Regions from separate parts of the Homo sapiens genome. Here region 2 is linked to region 1. Evidence: promoter capture Hi-C in 16 types of primary human blood cells and fetal thymus (Javierre and others, 2016). All regions are on one chromosome and are shown on one strand. The core of a region is centred on a gene start or on the middle of the fragment in contact, and the rest is flanking DNA. Distances in the headings are between cores, read along the strand shown.

The links. The method cuts DNA at HindIII sites, captures the fragments that hold promoters and counts their contacts. A CHiCAGO score of 5 or more calls a contact.
Region 2: the fragment with the promoter of MCFD2 here is called in contact with the fragment with the promoter of MSH6 in region 1 in 8 of 17 cell types (neutrophils, naive CD4 T cells, total CD8 T cells and 5 more); the score reaches 12.5 in neutrophils.

What each region holds. Positions count from the first base shown.
Region 1 is chr2:47,780,333-47,786,586 of GRCh38, reverse strand. MSH6 (mutS homolog 6) reads right to left here and starts at 3,442. Exons shown (of 10, transcript NM_000179.3): 1 at 3,094-3,442. The coding sequence starts at 3,353. RefSeq lists silencers at 2,660-2,749, 2,950-3,109, 3,390-3,869, 5,020-5,201 and an enhancer at 4,000-4,069. The HindIII fragment of the contact is 5,497 bases long and covers 1,785-6,254 here.
Region 2 is chr2:46,911,114-46,917,621 of GRCh38, reverse strand. MCFD2 (multiple coagulation factor deficiency 2, ER cargo receptor complex subunit) reads left to right here and starts at 1,816. Exons shown (of 4, transcript NM_139279.6): 1 at 1,816-1,899. It also overlaps a transcript of TTC7A not described here. RefSeq lists an enhancer at 772-1,746 and a silencer at 1,750-1,829. The HindIII fragment of the contact is 10,556 bases long and covers 1-6,508 here.

The DNA.
Region 1 (6,254 bases), core at 2,193-4,692:
TGAGGTGGGTGGATCACCTGAGGTCAGGAGTTCACGACTGGCCTGACCAACATGGTGAAACCCGTCTCTACTATAAACACAAAAATTAGCTGGGCGTGGTGGCAGGCACCTGTAATACCAGGTACTTGAGAGGATGAGGCAGGAGAATCGCTGGAACCCAGGAGGCGGAGGTTGCAGTGAGCTGAGACCACACCACTGCACTCCAGCTTGGGCAACAAGAGTGAAATTCCGTCTCAAAAAAAAAAAAAATACGCTCAACATGTTTTAAGGCTTAAATGATTCATGGAGTAAGTCCGAATGTCTCTGTAGCTCATCAGACTGTTCATGATTGGATCTCTGCTTAACTTCTCCAATGCTCCCTCCTCCTCCTTTCATCCTACCCACAATTTGCAGACCTTCCTCTTCCTGAACCAGCTTCCCACTCTCACTATAATCTGTCTAAGCTTATTTGTCCTTCTGGTTTCGGTTTACAGAGCTGAGAGCCTAGCCTGACCCGCATCCTCTCCGTCCCCTTTCCACTTGGAGTCTACAATTGCCTCTTTGCTTTGTCCTGTTCATGGTTGTATCCAGGATCCATAATGCCTAATGCTGTGCTCGGCAGAGTGATCTAGACACTGCAGTTTCTTTAGAAACCTAGTATCAAATGCCCATCTTTCTTGAATACCCTGGAATCCTCTCCATAACGGGAGGTGAAATGTATACGTTTTATTTTTACAAGTCTCTTAAACTCAACCTCAAGAAACAAATAACATACGCTATTCAATATGAATGTAAAGTACATCCTTACAATAAATACACCCGTTTGGTTTGGATTCAACAATCAATTCATGCTCAAGTAAACAATACGTCATGCTTTTCTAACCAGGAGTTTGTTATTGCGGATGCTGGCTCTGTTCCCCACAAGCATATTCTACTAATGCACAACTATATATATTTAAACTGCGGGAAAGGGTCGCTTAAACAAGGGTAACACTATAATTACACTTAGAAAAATCTCAGAATTCCTTTAGGACACTTTAAACTGGATTTAAATGGATTTGAAATCCATTACTCAAAACCACTAACTAGCGGCCGGGCACGGTGGCTCACACCTGTAATCCCAGCACTTTGGGAGGCTGAAGTGGGTGGACCACTTGAGGTCAGCAGTTTCAAGACCAGCCTGGCCAACATGGTGAAACTCCATGGTGAAAAATCAGCCGGACCGCGGTGGGCACACCCGTAATCCCAGCTACTCGGGAAGCTGAGGCAGGAGAATCACTTGAACCCGGCGGGCAGAGGTTGCAGTGAGCCGAGAAAGCGCCACAGCACTCCAGCCTGGGCGACAGAGCGAGACTCCATTTCAAAACAAAACCAAACAAAAAACACGAACTGGCTCTTATCTTGAATGAGTTATTTTTTCTGAGCCTTTATTTCTTCGTTTGTTCAAATAGCGACCATTAAACTTTGTGTTTAGTATCTGACAAACGGCCGGGCTCGGTGGTTCATGCCTGTAATCCCAGCACTTTGGTAGGCCAATGCGGGCCGATCAAGAGGTCAGGAGTTCGATACCAGCCTGGCCAACATAGTGAAACCCGTCTCTACTAAAAATACAAAAATTAGCCAGGCGTGGTGGGGCGCACCTGTAGTCCCAGCTACTTGGGAGGCTGAGGCAGGATAATCTCTTGATCCAGAGACAGAGGTTGTGGTGAGCCAAGAACGCGCCACTGCACTCTAGCCTGGACAAAAGAGCAAGACTCTGTCTCAAAATACATATATATGTATCTGGCAAACAGCAAAAGCAAGCTTTTCAAAATGTCGCCAGCTGCCCGGATAAAAAGCCCTAAACAGACCGGGCGCGGTGGCTAGCGCCTGTAATCCCAGCACTTTGAGGCCGAGGCGGGTGGATCACCTGAGGTCGGGAATTCCGAGACTAGCCTGACCAACATGGAGAAACCCCGTCTCTACTAAAAATACAAAATTGGCGGGGTGTGGGGGCGCATTCCTGTAATCCCGACTACTCGGGAGGCTGAAGCTGGGGAATCGCTTGAAGCCGGGACGCGGAGATTGCGGTGAGCTGAGATCGCGCCATTGCACTCCAGCCTGGACTTGAGCGAAACTCTCTCTCAAAAAGGAAAAAAAAAAAAAAGCACTTAACTGCCCATAAAGTGAGGACAACTCCCGACAGGCTTCCCCGGAGTCACTCACGTCCACACATCTTTGTCCAGCGCCCGATTAAGGCCTCTAAAAGCCCAGTGGTGCCCCATAAAAATTACACTATTTCATAAAATAAAATATTTTCCACTCGACACGAATTTCCACATACGTCAAAATATTCTATCTTCGTCTCGGTGCACGTGCAGCCTACCTACCGAAGGACCCAGCCGGATCCCAGCACTTCGGCTCCCCACGGCCCCGCCCCGCCCAATTAGGCCCCGCGGTCCCCATGGTGACACACCCCCCCGCGCTCGCAGCTCGTGGCCCACCCCCTCGGCGGCCCCTCACCTAGGCCGAAGGCCCACCGTCCCCAAGGCGTCTCGGCGACCGCGGCTCTTAACTACCTCTAAGTGTCTACCTCGATCGACTACTGGAGCCCCAACTCACTATCTCCGCGCCGGCCGAGGAACCTCCTTTCGCACCCCACACCACCGGACTCTCCCCGTTCGGCCTCCCGCAGGCATTCCTCCTTCCCGCCACCCCGCCCCCCGCCCCGCCCACCAAGTGGGCCGGGCGCCTTCCCCTTCTCGCCCCACCCCCAGTGCTCCCACCTCCCAGGCCCCCTCCCCACCCGGAGCTGCGCGCGTCGCCCCTTCCTTAGCCCAGCACCCCCACCTGGCGGGACGCGTCTCCTCCCTCCAAAAGGCCCGAACTCTCCGCGTCTCCCCTGCAGCCCTCTTCCTGCACAGCCTCTCTCCTCCGACCCTGTTTACAAGCTACACCCCCAAATGCTCCAGACTCGACCCCTGCACTCATTCAAGCCAACTCTGCGGCCCCGCCTCCTCCGAGCCCAGGGCCAGGCCGTGCACCCCCCCAACCCCCTGTGCGAGCCTCCCCTCGCCGGGTTCCAAGCGCCCCGCCGCTATGCCCCCGCCTTCGACCCCACCCCCACCCCGCTACCTGGTGGGGGCAGCAGGCGCTACCGATCTCCGCAGCCCTCCGTTGAGGTTCTTCGCCTTGGGCGGTGACGCGGAGCGCGCCAAGGGCCTGGGCCCAGGCCCAGCCTCGCTCCAGGCCGCATCCCCGCCTGGGGAAGGAGAGGCCCCGGGGGCAGCGGCGGCACGGCCGCCTTCGCGTGAGGCCCTGGCCGAGGCCTTGTTGGCATCACTCAGCGCCGGAGACTTGGGGAAGAAGCTGTACAGGGTGCTCTGTCGCGACATACCGACAGCCGGCAAGGCCCAACCGTTCTGTCGGACGGAGCTCCTAAAAGCACCGCATCTACCGCGCGGCTCCTGCTGGCGGGAAATCTGGGGGGAGGCGCGCTCCGCCGGAGGAACCCGGGCCCCAGTGGCCAATCAACAGGCGCCTCGCCGTGCGCGGGCGGTGCGCGCCAGGCCCCGCCCCCGGGCGCGCGGCGACGTGGGGAAGGGCGGGGCTGGCACACTGGTGGGTAGGGGCGGGGCTGGCACGCTGGCGGTGAGGGGCCCGCCCTGCCGCCGACGCCTGGGCCCCGCGCGGGGAACTGCTGAGCTCCCCTTCCCTCACGCCGCGGGGCTGGCCGGGCCGGAACACTCCGACCCGGGGTTAGTTGCGGCCGCGGGGCTAGCAGGCTCGGAAAGCCCTGCCTCTCTGGAGCGGAAGCGGGAACAGCGGGGGCGCGCACCGCCCGGGCGGGGATAACCGGGGGGACCCGAAAGGCCTCGGAAAGGGGCTCGCGGGGAGAAACGCGTCCAGCGCTCGCGTGACCTCCTGCCGTTAGAGCATTTTCGCAAGGAGACGGAGCGAAAGGGACCAAACTTTAGTCAGCAGTTCACCTTCACGTTGTATTCTCAAGATTTGTATAGAGTAGGCACTTGGTAAACGCTAAATGAATATTGTAATAGCATTCGTTAGCGATGCTGTTGTGTATGGTGAAAGCCTGCAGCTGTACAAAGTTTTCCTTTGCCAGGCACTGATCCCAGCATTTTACATCTGGTAACTAAATCGATCCTCTCAATAACCTGTGACGTAAGTACTTAAGGGCCACAGTCCGTTATCTGAGCCCTTTGACCCAGGTGTGTCTTTACAGGATTTTTCAAATTTTAGAAAGCTAAGAGACTATGAGAGGCCGGGCGCAGTGGCTCACGCCTGTAATCCCAGCACTTTGGGATGCCGAGGCGGGCGGATCACCTGAGGTCAGGCGTTGAAGACCAGCCTAGTCAACATGGTGAAACCCCCGTCTCTACTAAAAATCCAAAAATTAGCCGGGCGTGGTGGCATGCGCCTGTAATCCCAGCTACTTGGGAGGCTGAGGCAGGAGAATAACTTGAACCTGGGAGGCAGCGTTTGCAGTGAGCCAAGGTCGCGCCACTGCACTCCAGCCTGGGCGACAAGAGCGAAACTCCGTCTCAAAAAAAAAAGAAAGAAAGCTAAGAGGCTATGAGAATAAAAAGGTTCTATTCAAATTCAAGAAAGATAGTGGAAGACAGACAATTGTTTGTCCCCTTATCCAGATTGTGAAATCCAGATTGCCGGAAACCAGTCACAATCAACAGCTGTACATTGGTAAAAACCTATGTAAAATTAGTTGTTTGCCTTGTTCTTGGAGACTGTTCTGCCAGAAGGTTCTCCTTTGCTAGGCAAGTAATAAAATCAATCTAAAAAAAAAAGGCGGGGGCCGGGCGCAGTGGCTCACGCCTGTAGTCCCAGCACTCGGCACTTCGGGGGGGGGGCGGAGGTGGGCGGATCACGAGGTCAGGAGATCGAGACCATCCTGGCTAACACAGTGAAACCCCGCCTCTACTAAAAATACAAAAAATTAGCCTGGCGTGGTAGCACACGCCTGTAGTCCCAGCTACTGGGGAGGCTGAGGTAGGAGAATGGTGTGAACCCGGGAGGCGGAGCTTGCAGTGAGCCGAGATCGCGCCTCTGCACTCCAGCCTGGGCGACAGAGCAAGACTCCCTCTCAAAAAAAAAAAAAGAATATTGCCAAAGGTGGTATGTGCTAAGAAAAATACAGTATGCTTCACGAATTTGCATTTCATCCCTGTGCAGGGGTCATTCCAATTTTGGTATATGTGCTACCCAAGCAAGCACAGTGAAACCAACTGTTTGAGATAATATTTGAGAGTTGGTCTCTTTCCCCCACCGGCATACGTAAACACCCCCAGAGAGTCTGGGGGAACATGCTGAAATCAAACATGCAGTAAAACTTACATGCTTATTCATACTAAGTAGAAAGAATACAGAATATAGACTATAAATAGCCTCAGGTCAAAATTTGCTACCAAATGAGTTTACCCCCAAACTTTTGGTTTACAGAGCTTTTTGGATTTCAGAATTGCACGTAAGAGGCTGGTTATCCTGTATCTCCATATCATGGATGAAGCTGAGGCACAGTTGGGTCAAGTAACTTGCCCATGACTGCATAGCTAGGAAGTGGTGGAGCCTGGATTTAAACTCAAGGAAGCTGGTTCTGGAGCCCTATGTTGTTAACAGAAATACTATAATACTTCCAATTTAACACCATTTTATCTCATTTAGTTATTACAACCACCTTATACTAGGTTGAACTATGTGAAATTGCCAAAATTTGCCCTTTTTAAAATTTTTTTGAGACAGGGTCTGGCTCTGTCACAGAGGCTGGAGTATAGTGGCGTGATCTTGGCTTACTGTAGCCTCAACCTCCCAGGCTTAAGTAATCCTCTCACCTCAGCCTCCTGAGTACCTGGGACCACAGGCCCGCAACACCATGCCCAGCTAATTTTTTTTTTTTTTAATTGAGGAGTCTTATTCTGTCACCCAGGCTGGAGTACAGTGACGCCATCTTGGTTCACTGCAACCCCTGCTTTGCGGGTTCAGGCAATTCTCATGCCTCAGCCTCCTGAGTGCTAGGATTACTGGTGCCTACCACCATGCCCAGCTAATTTTTGTTTTTTAGTAGAGACACGGTTTCACCATGTTGGCCTGCCTGATCCCAAACTCCTGACCACAAGTGACCCGCCTGCCTCAGCCTCCCAAAGTGCTGGGATTACAGGTATGAGCCACTGTGCCCGGTGCCCTGCTAGTATTTTAAAAATTTTCTGTAGAGACGAAGTTTCACTATGTTGCCCAAGCTGGACCTTTTTGGTTTTTTGGTTGTT
Region 2 (6,508 bases), core at 567-3,066, 870 kb after region 1:
ACATCCATAGGAAAAAAATGAAAGCACTGGCTAGAATGAGGACACTTTATCCATCTACCAGACACCAGCTTCTTGACACTTCATTTGTCTTATTTGTATCTCTAGTAGCTCCTAGTAGAGCGCCTAGTACATAGAAGATATTCAAGAAATGTTATTGAATGAATAAATGAACAAAGGGAGGGGTGGATGAATGGATGAAGAGATGGATGAATGGCAGATGCAGGGTAGAAGGAGGAACTAGATCAAACTAATCCAAAGTTCAGAGTAAGGAAAGAAGAATGGGTCTTGAATTAATAGGGTTTCCTCAAAACTTAGGGATTCTTTGTCCCGGCGCGGTGGCTCACCCCTGTAATCCCAGCACTTTGGGAGGCGGAGGTGGTGGGAGGATTGCTTGAACCCAGGAGTTCGAGACGAGCTGGGCACCATGGAGACTCTTTTCTTTAAAAAAAGAAAAAAAAATTAGGGATTATGGGATTTTTCTCTGGGATGGGGTGGCAGATTTCAATCTCAGATGAAGGTGGGAAAAGGAATGAGACCGTCAATGGCAGTGGCGTTAGGCAACTTTCAAGGCATCTAACTACTTAGCCACTTTCTTTGTCTTTCCTGTCCGGACCCAGGCTCATTTGAAAAACGATTATGTACCTTTATGGACAGAAATGGGAGAAGGGCTTTAAAAAAAACGACCGTCCTGCCGGGAGTGGTGGCTCACGCCTGTAATCCCAGCACTTTGGGAGGCTGAGGCGGGAGGATCAAGAGGTCAGCAGTTAGAGACCAGCCTGGCCAACACGGTGAAACCCCGTCTCTACTAAAAATACAAAAATTAGCCGGGCAAGGTGGCACGCGCCTGTAATCCCAGCTACTCGGGAGGCTGAGGTAGGAGAAGAGCTTGAACCTGGGAGGCGGAGGTTGCAGTGAGCCGAGATCCCACCACTGCACTCCAGCCTGGGACAGAGCGAGACTCCGTCTCAAAACAAAACAAAACAAAACAAAAAAACAAAACGACCGTCCTACACTCATTTATCCATCAGGTCAATGGATACTTACTGAATGTTAATCTTGTATAGGAGCACAGGTGTAAGGGCAGGATTATACAGGGATGAATTCGATACAGGGATGATGTATTCGTTTCCCTATTTGTTCATGAGTCTGTTTTTAAGTAATCTGTCCTCTCTTGAATGTCAAAAGCTGCTGATTTCACGAACGGTACATGGAAGATGGTATTTGAACTGGGTCGCATAGTCTTGCTGGGACTCCCGTGGAAGCGAACGGGGACAGCGGCTGCCGCAGCTTGTGCAGTGGAGCTGGCAGACGCTGGAAGCAGGCCAATCTTGAAACGTAGGGTCCAAGGCCGGCTCCAGCGTGTTGTGGTCGTTTCATCAAGAAGGAATTAGCATTCCTATTATCTTTCTTCCCAACTTGCAGCAGGACGAACCAAGAGACCTGAACCAAGAGCCCTGTATAGGAGGGGGTGAGCGGAGTTGGGAGCCAGCTTTGGGGTCCGCCCCATCCGGATCCGCCATCCTACGTCGCCCGTGGAACTACGTTCCTGAGGGCTTCCGGCGTTGCCTAGCAACTGCCGGGCCCCTAGGGCGTCCAGCGGCCCAACTGGAGTGGAGCCGAGTGTCGCCCTTGGGAAAGCAGGTAGAAGAACTGCGTCAGTCCCGCCAGTGCTGGGCCCGGGCCGATTACACGTGGACTCACGCGAGCCGTCCTCACAGCCCGCCGCCGCCAGCGGGAGGGGCCCGGCGGCGCCAATGGGCGGGCGGCAGGGAGCGCGCGTGCGCAGGGCAGGTCGGGGGGGGGGGGGGGGCGGGGCGAAGCCGAGGAAGAGCGTTTTGGGGACGGGGGCTGGTGAGGCTCACGTTGGAGGGCTTCGCGTCTGCTTCGGAGACCGTAAGGGTGAGTGAACTAGCGCACTCTCCGCAGCGGGCGGGATCCCGGCGCCTCTCCTGTGGGCTGGAGGCTTGGGCTCAAGATGAGAGGCAGGAGTAGTCTGGGGGCGCGGGCTGGGCCCCCAGGCCGTCTCGGGACGCTTAACCGGCTAGGAGCACGGCCTGTCTCCCGGGGCGGAAGCCTGTGCCCCACCGGGGGCTCTGGAGCCAGACGGGGCCGACTGGGCAGATCTCCGCCCCCTTCCCTGGTCCCTAGGGGCCCGAGGATCGGCCTGTGGGACCAGCTGTGTCGGGTGGACACTGCTCCTGGCCCGGCCCAAAAGCAGCGGGCCGGAAGCCTTACTCTCCCTCTGCTCCTTGTTCCCTCTCTCGGGGAGACCACAGGTCCTGTCGGGCCCGGCGGGGGAAGCTGATCTCCTGTTGTATTCCCTCTCTGGGCATGGCCATCCACCCGGGTGCCCAAGCCAGAATTGGGCATCATTCTCACTTGCTTCACTCCTTTACCCACCCACATCGAATCCCTTGCAAAGTTGTCTTGGATACGTTCATTCTCCAGTCCCATCCCCCTGCCCTACCTAGTTCAGGCCACCTTTTCTTCTCTGGACTACCTCGGTGTCTTCCTGATGATCCCTGCATCTCTTCTTCATCCTCTGTAGTTTGTTCTATACAGAGAGGCTACAGCCATGGTCTTAAAACAGAAATCTGATCATGTGACCAGAAGCGTCCCCCCATTCCCTTATCACCCTTTGGTGGATTCTCATTGCTCTTCCAAGCTCTTGAACGGGGCTTGCAAAGCCCTTCATGACCTGTCTTCCTTTAACTTTAGATTCATTTGTCTCGACTGTACTGTGTCTTCAACCATACTGAATCTTTTTTGGTTCTTAGATCAGAACAAGTTCCTTCTGGGCTTACATGTTCCTTCAGTATGTTCGCTATGTCTGAGGCACTGTCCTTTGGTTGAAATAATCCTTCTTATCCTTTATGTGTTATTTCAGGTGTCAGTTGGGGATTTCGTGGTACCCCATGGGTGTCTGCCTGCCGGTCTCTCTTTTCTACCAGGTTGTAATCTGTGTGAGAGGAGTTTGTCGAGGTCATAGTACTATCTTCAGTACCTTGTGCTGTTAGTACGGTCATTAAATGTATAAATGCAGCATGGGTGCTCCTTGGGCTCCCTAGATGAACAAATAGATCAAGTTATTAATATTAAATGCCTGCTTTTTCAGAACCAATTCTCAACCCTCAGTCCGTGTAGAGGTTTCTTTAGCTTAGGAAGTTGGTTATTTTCTTGCCTTCATTCCAGGACCATGACAGGGGTAAGTGACAAAGTACTGGTCAGTTTTTCTTTGGCATTGGCTGTGGGTACAGGATGTCTGGATGTTGGTGAGTTTGGCTGCTTTGGGTTTGAATTCTTAACCAAGGGCCCCTTGAGGGAGAAGCTGCTACTAGCTGCTGGCAGGAAGGCTGGCCCCAAACTTAGTGCTGATAGGACTGATGACACACCAGGAAGAAAGGGTTGGGCCAGGTCAAACCACTGGAAGCCTCCAAAGGAAGTTCCAGCTTAGGCTAGATCCGCTGTGGGATAGGGAACAATACACCTAGGTGCCAAGACTCACTTCCCTGATTCAGCGATGAGCCAGGTCAGCTCAGCAGAGATCAGTAAGGTAAATGAGAGCCAGAGGAGAGAGGGTCCTGACTCTCAGAGAGGGAGGAAAAGAGAAAAATGGAAAAGGAGAACAACCTGTGATCGTATGTTCAGGTCAAATGAGTGTGAGAGGCTACAGACTGAGGTCGGATGAGAGAGCAATTGGTCTTGGCTGGAAGAATCCTGAGGTGACATTTGAACCTGTCCTGGAAGGAAGTTGGAGATGGACAGATGGAACCAGTAGGAGCGGAGGCTGTGGTACAGGAAGAGGCTGGCAGAGCAGGAGGGGAGCACTGTGACAGCCAAGGCACTGGGAGGCGCACTGCTCCTGATGGTCCAGCACTGCCCTCCCAGGACTGAGGCTGCGCCTTGTGAGGGCTGTCTCAAGGTATGGGTTGTGCCCTGAAGTCCCTTTGCAGAAATTTCTCCTCCGTTGGGTTTTTCTTCAGCCTGGCCTTTATAATTTCCTAAAGAAGGCCAGTGAGCTGGGGCTTATCTTCAGGCTGTTAGCCCATGGCCTTGAGCTAAGTAGTTAGAGCATGGATGATGCAACCTGTTATTTGGGTAGAGGGAGTTGCTTATGCTTTCTCTTGACTGTCAGCAGTTTAATTTGTTAGGTGGCAGTTAGATTCCCTGTTTTCTATCTTTCCCTCCCTCGCCTGCCTTCTTTCCTTTCTTCCTCTCTCTCTCTCTCTTTTTCTAATTAGAGAGGGAGTCTCACCATGTTGTCCAGGCTGGTCTTGAACTCCTGGGCTCAAGTGATTCACTTGCCTCAGCCTCTCAAAGTATTGAGATTACAGGCATAAGCCACCATGCCCAGCCCGATTCCCTGTTTTCAGTGTACCACTTGGAGGAATTTTTTTTCTTTATGTTTATCGATTTGGCTTTTGTTGCATTCCAATGATTAGAAACCTGCAACAGCAAACCAAAATGAGACAAGTTCAAAATCAGTGATTCTTGGCCTTTATCCCACCTCCCTTAAAGAAGGGATATTTTGGACTCATAGTTACTACATGATTAATCACTTGGTTGCTTTTTGGTGTTATCTAAATAGAATTTCCCCCACCCCCAACACACACACACCAAATTGATATACTAAGCATCCAATCACATAGTTGGAGGAAATGGTGCCATGAGTTCCATGATAGATATCTCCAAAAGAAAAGTTTCATCTTCAGTTACAGTGACATTAAAAATTGGCAGCATATCTGCAAAGGTGGTAATCCCCCCAGCTCCCCAAGGACCATGGCACACAGGCTAAGAACCAGCAGCTTCTGTTCCAGGCACTGTGCCTGATACTGGGAATGTGGATTCAGTCCAAGTCCTCTTAAAGCCCATCCAGCAAGGGGCACTGACAAGTAATCAGGCAGTTTTTCAAGAATTCATTCACACACAAGAAAACAAAAGAAAAAAAAGAATTAATTTGCAGCTGTCATCAGCTGTGGACGGGAGCCTTCTGAAGGGAAGCACTTGGGAGCCTGCAGGACGAATACCTACACCAGACTTGGAATTGAAAAGACCTCACTGGAGAAAGAGACATTTGATGTAAATGAGTCTGAAAGGCTTGGGAGGAGCTTGATTCCCTTCTCTGATCCTTCCTGTCCCAGAACTCTAAGATGTGTGGTCAGAACAAGTTGTTCTGCTATGGCCTAGGCAGTCACTGCTAGGAGTAACCTGAAACCTTGTTTTGTGGTACCAGGTACAGTGGCAGTGGCCTTGTCAGGGTCTGGACACGTTTAAAAAATTTTTTTGAGACAGTCTCACTCTCTTGCCCAGGCTGGAGTGCAGTGGTGTGATCTTGGCTCACTGCAATCTCTGCCTCCCGGGTTCAAGCAATTCTTGTGCCTCAGCCTCCCAAATAGCTGGGATTACAGGTGCACGCCACCATGCCCAGCAAATTTTTTTTTGTATTTTTAGTAGAGACGCATTTTGCCACATTGGCCAGGCTGGTCTCAAACTCCTGACCTCAAGTGATCCACTTGCCTCGGCCTCCCGAAGTGTTGGGATCATAGATGTGAGCCACTGTCCCTGGCCAAGGTCTGGGCACTTTTATTTGGTAAAATTGGAAGTGTAGTTTCTGACTGTTTCTGAATTATTTTGTGGAGATAAGAATTAACCGGAAACTCCTTTTGTATCCGATCCATATAGTATTGGGACAAAATTATGGGATAGATTACATTGAATACATATTCATAAAAAATGGTAGCAGATCTCGGCTCACTGCAGGCTCCACCTCCGGGTTCATGCCATTCTCCTGCCGCAGCCTCCCAAGTAGCTGGGACTACAGGTGCCCGCCACCACGCCTGGCTAATTTTTATTTTTGTATTTTTAGTAGAAACGGGATTTCACCGTGTTAGCCAGGGTGGTCTCGATCTCCTGACCTCGTGATCTGCCCGCCTCGGCCTCCCAAAGTGCTGGGATTACAGGCACGAGCCACCATGCCGGCTGAAAATCACAATTCTAATCTCATGTCTCAAGATAATCTTTGTTATTAGTTTGTGTAGGAAATACACATTTTTATTTTACAAAAGTGTATTATTCTTTATTGCTTTTTTGCAGCCTGTTCTTTTTCATTCAATATATATTGAGCATTCTTTCCTATTAAGTATGACATATTGCTTTTTTTTTTTTTTAAACTACAGATATAAAAGGTCTGAGGTGGCCGGGCACGGTGGCTCATGCCTGTAACCCCAGCACTTTGGGAGGCCGAGGCGGGTGGATCACCTGAGGTCTGGAGTTCGAGATCAGCCTGGCCAAGATGGTGAAACCCTGTCTCTACTAAAAACACAAAAATTAGCTGGACGTGGTGACATGCACCTGTAATCCCAGCTACTCGGGAGGCTGAGGCAGGAGAATTGCTTGAACCTGGGAAGCGGAGGTTGCAGTGAGCCAAGATTGCGCCACTGCACTCCAGCCTGGCGAAAGAACAAGACTCTGTCTCAAAAAAATAAAAATTAAAAAATAAAAGGTCTGA